Regions from separate parts of the Homo sapiens genome. Here regions 2 and 3 are each linked to region 1. Evidence: promoter capture Hi-C in 16 types of primary human blood cells and fetal thymus (Javierre and others, 2016). All regions are on one chromosome and are shown on one strand. Each heading gives the region's core, a stretch centred on a gene start or on the middle of the fragment in contact. The rest is flanking DNA. Distances are from core to core; before and after follow the strand shown. Region 1 holds the start of ASAP2 (ArfGAP with SH3 domain, ankyrin repeat and PH domain 2). Region 2 overlaps LOC105373417 (a long non-coding RNA gene). Region 3 overlaps ASAP2 (ArfGAP with SH3 domain, ankyrin repeat and PH domain 2).

The links. The method cuts DNA at HindIII sites, captures the fragments that hold promoters and counts their contacts. A CHiCAGO score of 5 or more calls a contact.
Region 2: a contact is called between a fragment that was not itself captured here and the fragment with the promoter of ASAP2 in region 1, in 2 of 17 cell types (megakaryocytes and endothelial precursors). The highest score is 9.9, in megakaryocytes.
Region 3: a fragment that was not itself captured here is called in contact with the fragment with the promoter of ASAP2 in region 1 in 1 of 17 cell types (endothelial precursors); the score reaches 5.1 in endothelial precursors.

Annotation. Positions count from the first base shown.
Region 1 is chr2:9,204,851-9,208,353 of GRCh38, forward strand. It overlaps ASAP2 (ArfGAP with SH3 domain, ankyrin repeat and PH domain 2), which reads left to right and starts at 1,962. Exons shown (of 28, transcript NM_003887.3): 1 at 1,962-2,380. The coding sequence starts at 2,255. RefSeq lists enhancers at 1,111-2,043, 2,044-2,974 and silencers at 1,492-1,751, 1,498-1,681. The HindIII fragment of the contact is 2,916 bases long and covers 251-3,166 here.
Region 2 is chr2:9,141,228-9,144,730 of GRCh38, forward strand. All of the region lies in intron 1 of LOC105373417 (a long non-coding RNA gene), which reads right to left. Among named protein-coding and RNA genes, the nearest start is that of ASAP2, 64 kb to the right of the region's middle. RefSeq lists enhancers at 795-1,692, 1,809-1,888. The HindIII fragment of the contact is 981 bases long and covers 1,126-2,106 here.
Region 3 is chr2:9,239,422-9,242,924 of GRCh38, forward strand. The region is part of intron 1 of ASAP2 (ArfGAP with SH3 domain, ankyrin repeat and PH domain 2); the gene reads left to right. Among named protein-coding and RNA genes, the nearest start is that of ASAP2, 34 kb to the left of the region's middle. The HindIII fragment of the contact is 4,856 bases long and covers 1-3,503 here.

The DNA of each region.
Region 1 (3,503 bases), core at 712-3,211:
TATGCAGTAGGCAAGTTAGATTTCTAAGGGATGATGGAGGAATAAATGGCTCTAGCATTCTACCAATTTGGTATCCTCTTTAGGCCACCAATGAACTTGGTAACTAATTGTTGTTTTCCACCAGCCTTGCAATGCAACACAGCTTTGCAATTTTATTTTTTTGAGGCTACTAAAGCTTCCTGTATCTGCAAAATTAAACTAAAAGAAACAAGAACCGGAGTTGTATATAAAGAGAGAACAGAGAATACCAAGCTTAACTTTGTCCTTGTAGAAGTATTGATTAGTCTGGTTAATGCTGTACTAGACATCAAGGAAAAACCCGACTTTCTTTCTTAGATCCCTCATAGCCTCATAGAGACCAGCCCTCTACAAATCAAGACTTGAAAAGTTATTCAGCATATTCCCTCATGTCAAAAACTGTAGCTGGGAAACTAGGTAGGCGGGAACAGAATCTGCCTGGTGTTGGAGAGGATGTATTAATATAAATAATAAACACAAAACATGAATTGTAGAAGGTTGCAAATAGAGGAAAACTTCAGACACCAAAAGGATCAAAAAACATAAAAAGAAACAGATACAATTTTTAAATTGTAACTTGTTGTCTAGTGCAATGATAAAAGCTATCCACGAATACAGCGATTTTAGAAAGTTAAATTTTACATGCAGTGCTACTAAAATACCAAAGGCCATACATAATGTCTGACCCAAGCTGCCACCTCATATAGCAACTTCTTACATGGGGGCTTTAAAAAGATTGTTTGACTGGTCTACTGTCCTGCAGTGTCAGGAGACGGCTTTGTCTGACATATTGAATTTCCAGTGTCTCTCACACTTCCTCCTTTTCAGATGCACAAAAGGTTTTTGTAAAGTTTCTCTTGGTTTTACCGCTGGCAGCTACAGAAACCATGCCACAAGTCTGGTGTAGAGTTATAGGGTGTGATTTTATTTGACTGGTATCTTCAGAGCTTCTGGATTTTTCAGTATAACCGAGAATTTCCTTAAGAGCTGTAAATAAAAATCGGTACCAGTTCGAACCCTTTACTGGCCCGGTTTTGTGTGAGGTTGGCTGGCTGCTGTAGCACGTTCTCCCCCTCCTCCTCCTCCTGCACCCCCTCGGTTCCCTCCTCTGCCTGCGGGAATACCACTTCAGGGCGTTCAGCAGCCTTCCCAGGGTGGGTCCTGGCCTAGTACCCTAAAACTATAACCGAGAATACCTATCATTGGGCAGCCTAGGAAACGCGACTGGGACTTTTAGTAGGGGCCCCTCACCGCTCTGAAGCACTCACACTTGAGTCAGGGAACATGGGTTTGAATCCCCACCCGGCCGTTTATCTTGTGCTCTTGGGCACACTGTGTCCCCTATATAAAATAAGCACCCATCTCTTCATCTGTCTCCTAGGCCTGCGACGATGCAATGACTGCACGCAAAGCGCACATTCACGGTCAGGTCACTTCTGGCGTCCGGCTGTGGTCCCCGCAGGGTGCCCGCCGGCGGAGCGCATCCTCCGGCAGGGGGCGAGCTCCGCACCCCGCTTTCCTCATGGGCCGGCGCGGCCCGCCGTTCAAGTGGGGAGCCCAGAGGTGCTCCGCGCCGTGGGCGGGGGGCGGTTGGCGCGCACAAGGCCGGACTCCGGCGGGGCGCACCTCCACACGCACCCTCGCGGGCAGCGGGTCGGAGTCGGGGCCTCGGGCCGGCTGGGGGCGGGGCATGGGCGCGGCGCGCGGGGCCCGGAACGCCGAGACAATGCGGCGCGCGGCGGCCAGGAACGGCTCGGCGGGCCGGGGCGCGCGCCGCCTTCCTTCCTGCGGGATCCGCTTCCCGGCGGCGCGGCAGCGGCGAGCGCGCCGATTGGCGGCCCGGTCCTCCCGCCGCCCCGCCCCACGCCCGGCCGGCCGCCGCCCCCGGCCCGGACCCGCCCCTCTCCGCGGGAGGCGTCGGGGCCCGCGGCTGGGTGGCGGGTAGTTCCCGCCGGCTGTGCGCGCCCGCCTCGGGGCTCGCTCTGAGAGGACGCGGCGGCAGCGGACTCGGAGCCCTCGGCGCGCAGGCGGGCGGACCGGCCGAGCTGCGCGGGGCTGCGCGCCGCCCCTGCTCCGCCGCCAGGCCCCGCGCGGCTCCCGCGCCCGGCGCTCCCCTTTGTCCGCGGGCCGGAGCGGCGGCGGCAGCGGCGGTGTCCGAGCGGCGGTCGGAGCCTGCTGCGGCAGTTGAGGCGGCGGCGCCCCTGCGGCTGTGCGCCAGCGCCCTCGCGCCGAGGCGATGCCGGACCAGATCTCCGTGTCGGAATTCGTGGCCGAGACCCATGAGGACTACAAGGCGCCCACGGCCTCCAGCTTCACCACCCGCACGGCGCAGTGCCGGAACACTGTGGCGGCCATCGAGGAGGTGAGGCGGCCTGCGCGGCGGCTCCGGCCGCAGGTATCCCGCGCCCCAGCCCCGCCCGCCGCTCCCGCATCCGCATCCCGAGAAAACTTTCTTTGCTCCGAAGCCGGACGCGGCCGGGCCAACCCTGCCCGAGACAGAAGCCCTTTGTTCCCGCCTAGGTGGCTCGGAGGAGATGGGTGATGGCCACCTTGGGCCTCTTTAAGACCTCCCCTCTCTCGGCCTCGTGGCCCTCGCGGGGTTCCGCGGCCTGGTCTTTTCCCCGCAGCGCGGCCAACTTTGTCCAGAGTCGGGGTCCGCGGCGAGCGGGGGATCCCGCTGCCCGCCGCCGCCCGCCGCCGCCCGGGGTCTTTGGTACCCGGTGCGGACCTTATCAACTTGTTCTTGAAGTGGACCGGCGGGGGCAGCTCCGCGCTCCGAGCTCCCCGCCGCAGCCCCCGAGCGCCGCAGGGCCCCCACCCTCGGGTCCGCGGGTCCGGGGCATCCCGGGCTGCCCGGGAAGGCGTGCCCGCCTCAGCCAGGGCGGCCTGGCTGCGCTCCACCCGTGCCCGGAGAAGGAACTGCGGGCAAGGTGTGTGAGAGTCGGCGCTTCTGGGTCCAAGAAGCCTCCAGGAGCCGCTCCCCGGTTACCTGGGTCTCACCTGCTTGAACCCGGAATGCCGCCCTTCCCCCTCAACCTGGAAAAGGCCTGGTTTTAGTAAAGTGCTCTCAAGGTGCAAAGTCATCACGCCTAGCTGCTAAGCAGTACGCTCTCCAGGTCCTGGGGAGAGGAACACGTAGGAACGAAGAAGCTTGGTTGAAAATTAAAGCCGTGGGGAAAGGGGCAGAGTCTGTGAGTCCAGGGGCCACCGTTGGCTGTGGTTTGAGGCACATCCTCACCTGCAGTCCTCCTTTTCCTTACCCATCAAACGGGATTAGTAATGCATCCTTTCCAGGATCAGAGACTGTGTGAAGTGCTTAGCACTCTGCTCGGCTCAGAATAGGTTTACAAGTCACACGTGTGGCAATAGTGAATCTGTGATTAAATGTCTCTGGGCCAGGATGTCAGGTTACAGTTTTAAAATTGGGTATTGCAGGTGTTTTAGCAGAAGACGCCTGGGCTAGCAGGAGTGTGTGTGTGGGTGGG
Region 2 (3,503 bases), core at 366-2,865, 64 kb before region 1:
GAGAAGAGCAGGACTCTCCTCCTCCAATGAGCAATTCTAACCAGGGAAACTTCTCTACGTGGCATTGAAATCTGGCCCACAGGAGGTGCTTCCCTGGCCCCAACCCCCTCTTCCCTCAGACTCCTAACAGGATGGAGTCAGGGAAACAGGATCAACACACCTGGGGGTCCAGCCTGTAGAGCGTCGGCAGGGAGGGTCATCGCTGGCTTTTACTGGGCACTCACTGTGTGGATGGGGTTTGAAGTCAACCTGACCAGGGATTGAATCTTGGCTTACCTTAGCTGTGTGATCCTGGGCAAGTCGCTTTACCTCTCTGAGTCTTGGCTTTCTGCTGTGTAAAATAAGGACAAATAACCTCTATCTTGCTGGGTTGTGGTTCAGATTAGAGAGAATTGTGCAGAATGTCAGGTACAGCAATGGGTTTCCAGACTTTAGGCCTGTGGGAAGTCAGCCTCAGAATCTCCTGGGAAACTTCTTATCAAACACAGATTCCTGTAACCTGCTCTCAGAGATTCTGATCAAATTCACCTGGCCAGTTTCAGCTACACCTGCTGAACTATTTACCGAACTATTTACAGCTCTCCAAATGCACTATAGCACTTCTTACCACTATGCCTTTGTACACACAGTTCCCCCATCTAGAGGCCCTTCCCCCTTTGATTGGAAAACTCCTAGTCATCCTTCAAAACCCAGCTGAAATGTCTCCCCATTGATGAAGACTTTCCTAACCATGCCCTCATCTCCCAGTACTCGCTTCTTTGCCAGATCAGTTGTTATGACATGAATAAGAAGTATAATTACCTTCCATTTAGTGAATCTATTATGTACCTCTCATTTCACATACTGTATCTTAACAATAGTTACGCCAAGTACTAATTATTAGCCCTGTTTCCCTGTTTACATATGAAAAAGCTGAGTCTCTGAGGGCTTAAGCAGCTTGCCCTCAGTCCCACAGCTGATAGGGGACAAAGCCAGAACCCCACGCTACTGAGCCCCGAATCTCTAGCTCTGGTCCTTATGGTCTTGGTCTGCCTTCCCCTCAGCACGTGAGCCTGCAGATGTCGGAGCCCAGGGTGTGCATTCATCGCATTCATCTCTTTTTTTTTTTTTTTTTTTTTGAGACGAAGCTTCGCTCTTGCCCAGGCTGAAATGCAATGGCGCGATCTCGACTCACTGCAACCTTTGCCTCCCGGCTTCAAGCAATTCTCCTACCTCAGCCTCCCGAGTTGCTGGGATTACAAGCGTGCGCCACCATGCCCGGCTAATTCTTTTTATTTTTAGTACAGAAGGGGTTTCACCATGTTGGCTAGGCTGATCTTGAACTCCTGACCTCAGGTGATCCGCCCACCTCAGTCTCCCAAAGTGCCGGGATTACAGGCGTGAGCCACCGCGCCGGGCCTAGGGTTAGGGTTCATTCACCTCTGAGTCCTCATCAGCACATTCCCTGATGCGCAAACAGCAGGGAACCCTAAGTGTCGGTCCCTATCTCCTAGGTCCACACCGCCTTCCGTCACACCAGGCTCTCTCCAGACTGGCTGAGAGGGTGGAGCTGGGAGCCTCTGAGGCTGGTAAGCCGCGTGCCTTTGGAGGGTGGGGTAACAAGCAGGGCCTCTCCTAAGGAGGGCTTCCCCGGCCTTCCTTCCTCGGGGCGCAGCATCGACATTCGCCACCAGGGGGTGCTGCCGCACCGTTCCCGGCGCCGCCTCTGCCCCGCGAGGGACTGGGGCGTTTTCCACCGGGCGCGTGTCTGGGGCTGTGACTCAGAATCCTCAAACTCAGAGTTCGCAGACGGAGGAACTCATGCTCAAACGTCTGAACAAAAATATACAGAGCATGAAATTTTTACTCCAGAAATAGTGCACCTCTCTCCCCCTTGGGGAAAAGCGTTTTCCCTACTTCCGTAGGAGTTAACTCGCCAAGGCTTTTAGGAGACGCCGCACAGCTGTGCTCCCGCTCGTTGAAAAAAAGATGCCAAAAGTGTAGAATTTGACCACAAACAACCGAGCTTCACAACGGAGTGTGGCTTGTGTGCCAGGCCCTGTGCTGGGGGTGCAAAAGGCCCCCCGTGTCCAGCCTGGCAGCAGTGACTTCGGGGTCCCTCCTGCAAGCTTGGCTACAGGTGTTCAATCTTACTGACATATTTTACAAATATAGCTACATTTTTCCAGCCCAAATTCAGTACACATGACCTAGCAAAGCATTCCAGAGGCAAACGGCTTTCTAGGAAGTGTAGCTTAGGCACCTAAATGCTGGCATTCTGGGGCTGATGGCGTACGGGAGCCATGAGCAGAGGGTTTGAAAACGGACCTGTCTGGAAAGCCCAGGTCAGAGGGTCCCAAGAGCAGGGCTGGGCAGGCCCCAGATGCCTCCCTTGTAGGGGATTCTGGGGTCTCCTCCCCTCATAGACCCTTCTCCTCCACGAAGCTTCTTCCGGGGGCCAGAGCAAAGTCCCTCTTCTGTCTGGCATTCCACCCAAGCCGCCTCCTTTTCTGTCTGCACCTTCTCCTGGGAAATCTCATTCAAGTCCATGGCCTTAAGCCTCTATCAAGGATGCCCCTAAGGCCGGGTGCAGTAGCTCACGCCTGTAATCCCAGCACTTTGGGAGTCTGAGGCGGGTGGATGGATCACCTGAGGTCAGGAGTTCAAGACCAGCCTGGCCAACATGGTGAAACCCCATCTGTACTAAAAATACAAAAAATTAGCCGGGCATAGTGGCGCACACCTGTAATCCCAGCTACTTGGGAGGCTGAGGCAGGAGAATCGCTTGAACCCGGGAGGCGGAGGTTACAGTGAGCCAAGATTGTACCACTGCACTCCAGCCTGGGCCACAGAGCAAGACTCCATCTCAAAAAACAAAACAAAACAAAAAGCAAAGATGTTCCTAAGACACCATTACTGAACATATAGACCAGTAAATAACAATGATTACACAAATCACATGATAAATTGCATAACACCACACACACACACCACACACATCACACACACACCACACACACACACACACACCCCCCACACACACACCACACACACCACACACACACACCACACACTGTGAACCTAAAAGTGTCTGAGACACCCAATCAATCTGGAAAGTTTATTTTGCCAGTGTTAAAGACACACCCATGTTACAGCCTCAGGAGGCCCTGAGGTCATGTACCCAAGTGGTGGGGGCACAGCTTGCTTTCATACATTTTAGGGAGACACGAGACATCAATCAATATATGTAAGATGTACATTGGTTCGCTCCCCTAAGGCAGGACAACTTGAAGTTGGGGGAACTTCCAGGTCATGGGTAGATAAGAAACAAAAGGTTATTTTGGGTCTTTGATCAGCCTTTCATTGAATACACAATTTACGTGGGAGGACGGAGTAGAGGAATAGTCACTTAGGCCTTAGTCTGACTCAGTGAACCTGCGTTTTTATTTTAAAATAGGGCAGAAGAAGCCATCAGATATGCATTTGTCTCCGGTGAGCAGAGGGAACACCGAGTTCTGTCCTTT
Region 3 (3,503 bases), core at 560-3,059, 34 kb after region 1:
TATATTTTGGGTAGAATGAAATCATGTGTGTGGTGATGGAGGGGTGGTGGTGGGGGGAGATAATAACAAACTCTTCTGTAGCCTGAACTCATTACTTCTTATAACCCATAGGTGTAGGTACCATTTTCTTTATTTTATGAATGAGAAAATTGAGGTCCAGCTTCTTGGAAGGTAAGAGAAATGAGTCCCATTTCCCCTAATATTAACCGAGCACCATTTATGTGCCGGCCATTTGGACCCATCTAAGGGGCACAAAACCATTGTTTTTTGTTGTTGTCGTTGTTGTTGAAACCACTGTAATGGCAGCATCTTTTTTTTTTTGTTTTAGATGAGGCCTCACTGTGTCGCCCAGGCTGGTCAGTGGAGTGGTCACGGCTCACTGCAGCCTTGGCCTTTCTGGGCTCAAGTGATCCACCCACCTCAGCCTCTTGAGTAGCTTGGACTCCAGGTGCACACCACCATGCCCCAGTAATTTTTTTGTAGAGATGAGTTTTTGTCATGTTTAAGTGACTTTCCCAAGGCCTTGTAGCTGGTAAGAAGGAGGTCTTCTGTTTCTAAGTTGAATTCTTTTCCCTGTCCTGCTACTTTTGGGGTGGTTTATGGAAAGAAATTAAGTCAGGGTGAAAAAACTAGTCAACTTCTTAGAGCAATGTAGATAAGATTTTCACAGTTGATCTTCACAGACTTATCTAAATACTGAAGCCCCATTATCCCTGGGGGGTATGTTCCAAGACCCTCGGTGGATGCCTGCAGCCAGCTAATATTGAACTAGTTTGCCTTCAATCACGACATGTCTCTGTTCATGTCATGTCTTCCTCCCATAATTTTTTTTTTTTTTTTTTTTTTATTTGAGACAGGGTCTCACTCTGTCACCCAGGCTGGAGTGCAGTGGCGCCATCACGGCTCACTGCAGCCACCATTTCCTGGGCCCAGGTGATCCTCCCACATCCACCTCCCCGGTAGCTGGGATCACAGGCATGCACCACCATGCCAAGCTAATTTTTTGTAGAGATGGGGTTTCTCCATGTTTCCCAGGCTGGTCTCAAACTCCTGGACTGGAGCGATTCACCTGCCTTGGCCTCCCAGAGTGCTGAGGTTTCAGGTGTGAGCCACCGTGCCCAGCCCCTCCCAAAAGTTAATGATTTTTCCATCATAACTAAGCACTTGCCACGCACCACGGCCGTAGCTTTTGCAGTTTGAGATGTGAAGGCAAAGCTAGCATGAGTTTATTTTTTTCTTCTTTACCATTTCATGAATAGAAGACCCACTTTTCCCTTAGATCTTAGCAACCTCAGCATAGGAATTTTTCCTTAAGTCAAGGAGTTTCATCTTTTTACTTAAAGGAAGTGCTGTATGATTTCTCCTTGGCATATCTGCATTACCAGCATCTAGGGTTCTTGTGCTCTGGGACCATTATTATGTAAAAAATAAGGGTTACTTGAACACAGGCTCTGCAATACTGGGACAATCATCTCATAACCTAGGCAGCTACTAGGTGACTCATGGGCAGGTAGCATGGACCTTGTGGTTCTGCCAGACAAAGGGAGGAGTCACGTCCCGCGTGGGAGGCAGGACGGTGTGAGATTTCATCTCTTGACATAGAACAGCAAGCAATTTAAAAGTTATGAATTGCTTATTTCTGGACTTTTCTGTGGAATATTTTTGGACTGTGGTTAGTGGAAACTGTGGAAAATGAAACTGTGGATAAGAGGGTAGTACTGTATCTGGATGAGTCCAAAAACACATTCTAAGATGAAATATTATTAGCTCACATATTTATCTTTTAGGATACAATCTTTCTTAATTTAGCATGTGTGCTGGAAGATATTTTGTCAGTATTAAGTAATGCTGCAGAATTTTGGTTGAACTGTTGTGCATGTAGAACATTAATTCTTTGTTTTCCTGATAGTTTTTGGTGAGAGGTTTTCTGGGAAGTCATTGTCCTATTACCACTTTGCATGCTAAACTGGTGCGATTATGAGTTCCTTATCCATATCAGGGTTGGGGATGTACATACATACATGAAAATCAAACTGGCTGGGTGTGGTGGCTCATGCCTATAATCCCAGCACACTGGGAGGCCAAAGAAGCAGGAGGATCACTTGAGCCCAGGAGTTCGAGACCAGCCTGGGAAACATGGCGAAACCCCATCTTTTACCCAGGCATGGTGGCGCCGTGATCGCACCACTGCACTCCAGCCTGGAGTCTCAAACCAGGCTCAAACAACAACAAAAAACTAATTGCTTTAAGTAAATGTTCATGCCTCACCAAAGATATGTACTGTAATTTTCCTATTGTGGATATGTATATTTTCAACTCCTCCAACATTAGTGAGTATATGCCAGACACTGTGCTAAGTCAAGGAAAGCGAGGAGAAGGAAAGGGATGGCATTTTGATCTGGACCTGAAAGGTTGAATCTAATAAGTGAGAAGAGAACTCAGGACCTGGCAGGTGGAGGATTACATGGTTGCACATGTTAGGGTCCCAATAAGTTTAGGGGAGCATGTTAGACAGATTAAGAACTTTGTTATCAGGCGGACACATGTGAATTTCACACCTGGTTTTACTACTTGGTAACTGTACTTCTGGGCAAGTTGGTTAGCTTCTTCGAGCACTAGTTTCCTCATGTGAAGCAAGGAGGAGAAGGCATAACATGTACCTCACAGGCGTTCGTTGTGTTTGCTATCTTGGAAGAGAGGGGGGAGGTCTGTGCTCTGTGCTGGAATGAAACTTTTTTTTTATTTGGCCAGACAGTGATGGTAGGCATTCTTTGGACCGTGATCTTAGGGGCGCATGCTTTGGCGGTTTACAGATAGAGATCTGACCTGGTCCATGGGAAGTGCAGATTCAGTTCCTTGCTGACACTGTCAGGAGCTCTTCCATCACCTAGCCTTGTGCCAGCACACTGGTGGTGCTTGGTAAATGTTTGTTGAATAAGTGCACTAAGGTTTCACTGTAACCTCTAGTGATCTGCTTCTAGAAGCCTTTTCTTCTGGTAGGGTCACACCTAGAGGAATTGGATGCTACAAACTGTGATAGACCCAGTACCATACTCTAGCTGCTGTGTCTAGCTTGACAGGGATGGGCACTTGCGGTGCCCTCAGCCTGGCTTGAAGTTGACATCTTGTATTGGGCGGTGTGTGGGCTCTGTTCCCTGAGTCTTCATCCTGAAACTGCTGGGGCTGATAGCTGGTCGCGGGATCACCTTTCAAAGGAACGCAGTCCAGAGGCCTTTGCTTCCTCAGGATGGATTCAAGGAGAGAATCCTCAGCTGATCATCATTTTATCCCATTTTTTCTGTTTCCTTTACTGTTCCAACTTTTCTTTCTTTTCTCACCTCCTTTATGGAGGAAAATTGCCGTCTGGGGAAGCATGATGCTGGGGAAGTAGGTTTTGATTGTCCGATGATTGTCAGGTGAGACTATTACACGTGTTCAGACCATTGGGTGTAAGACATTGGTGCACATTAGCTCCTGCTTTGATATAACTGAGGCCCAGTAAC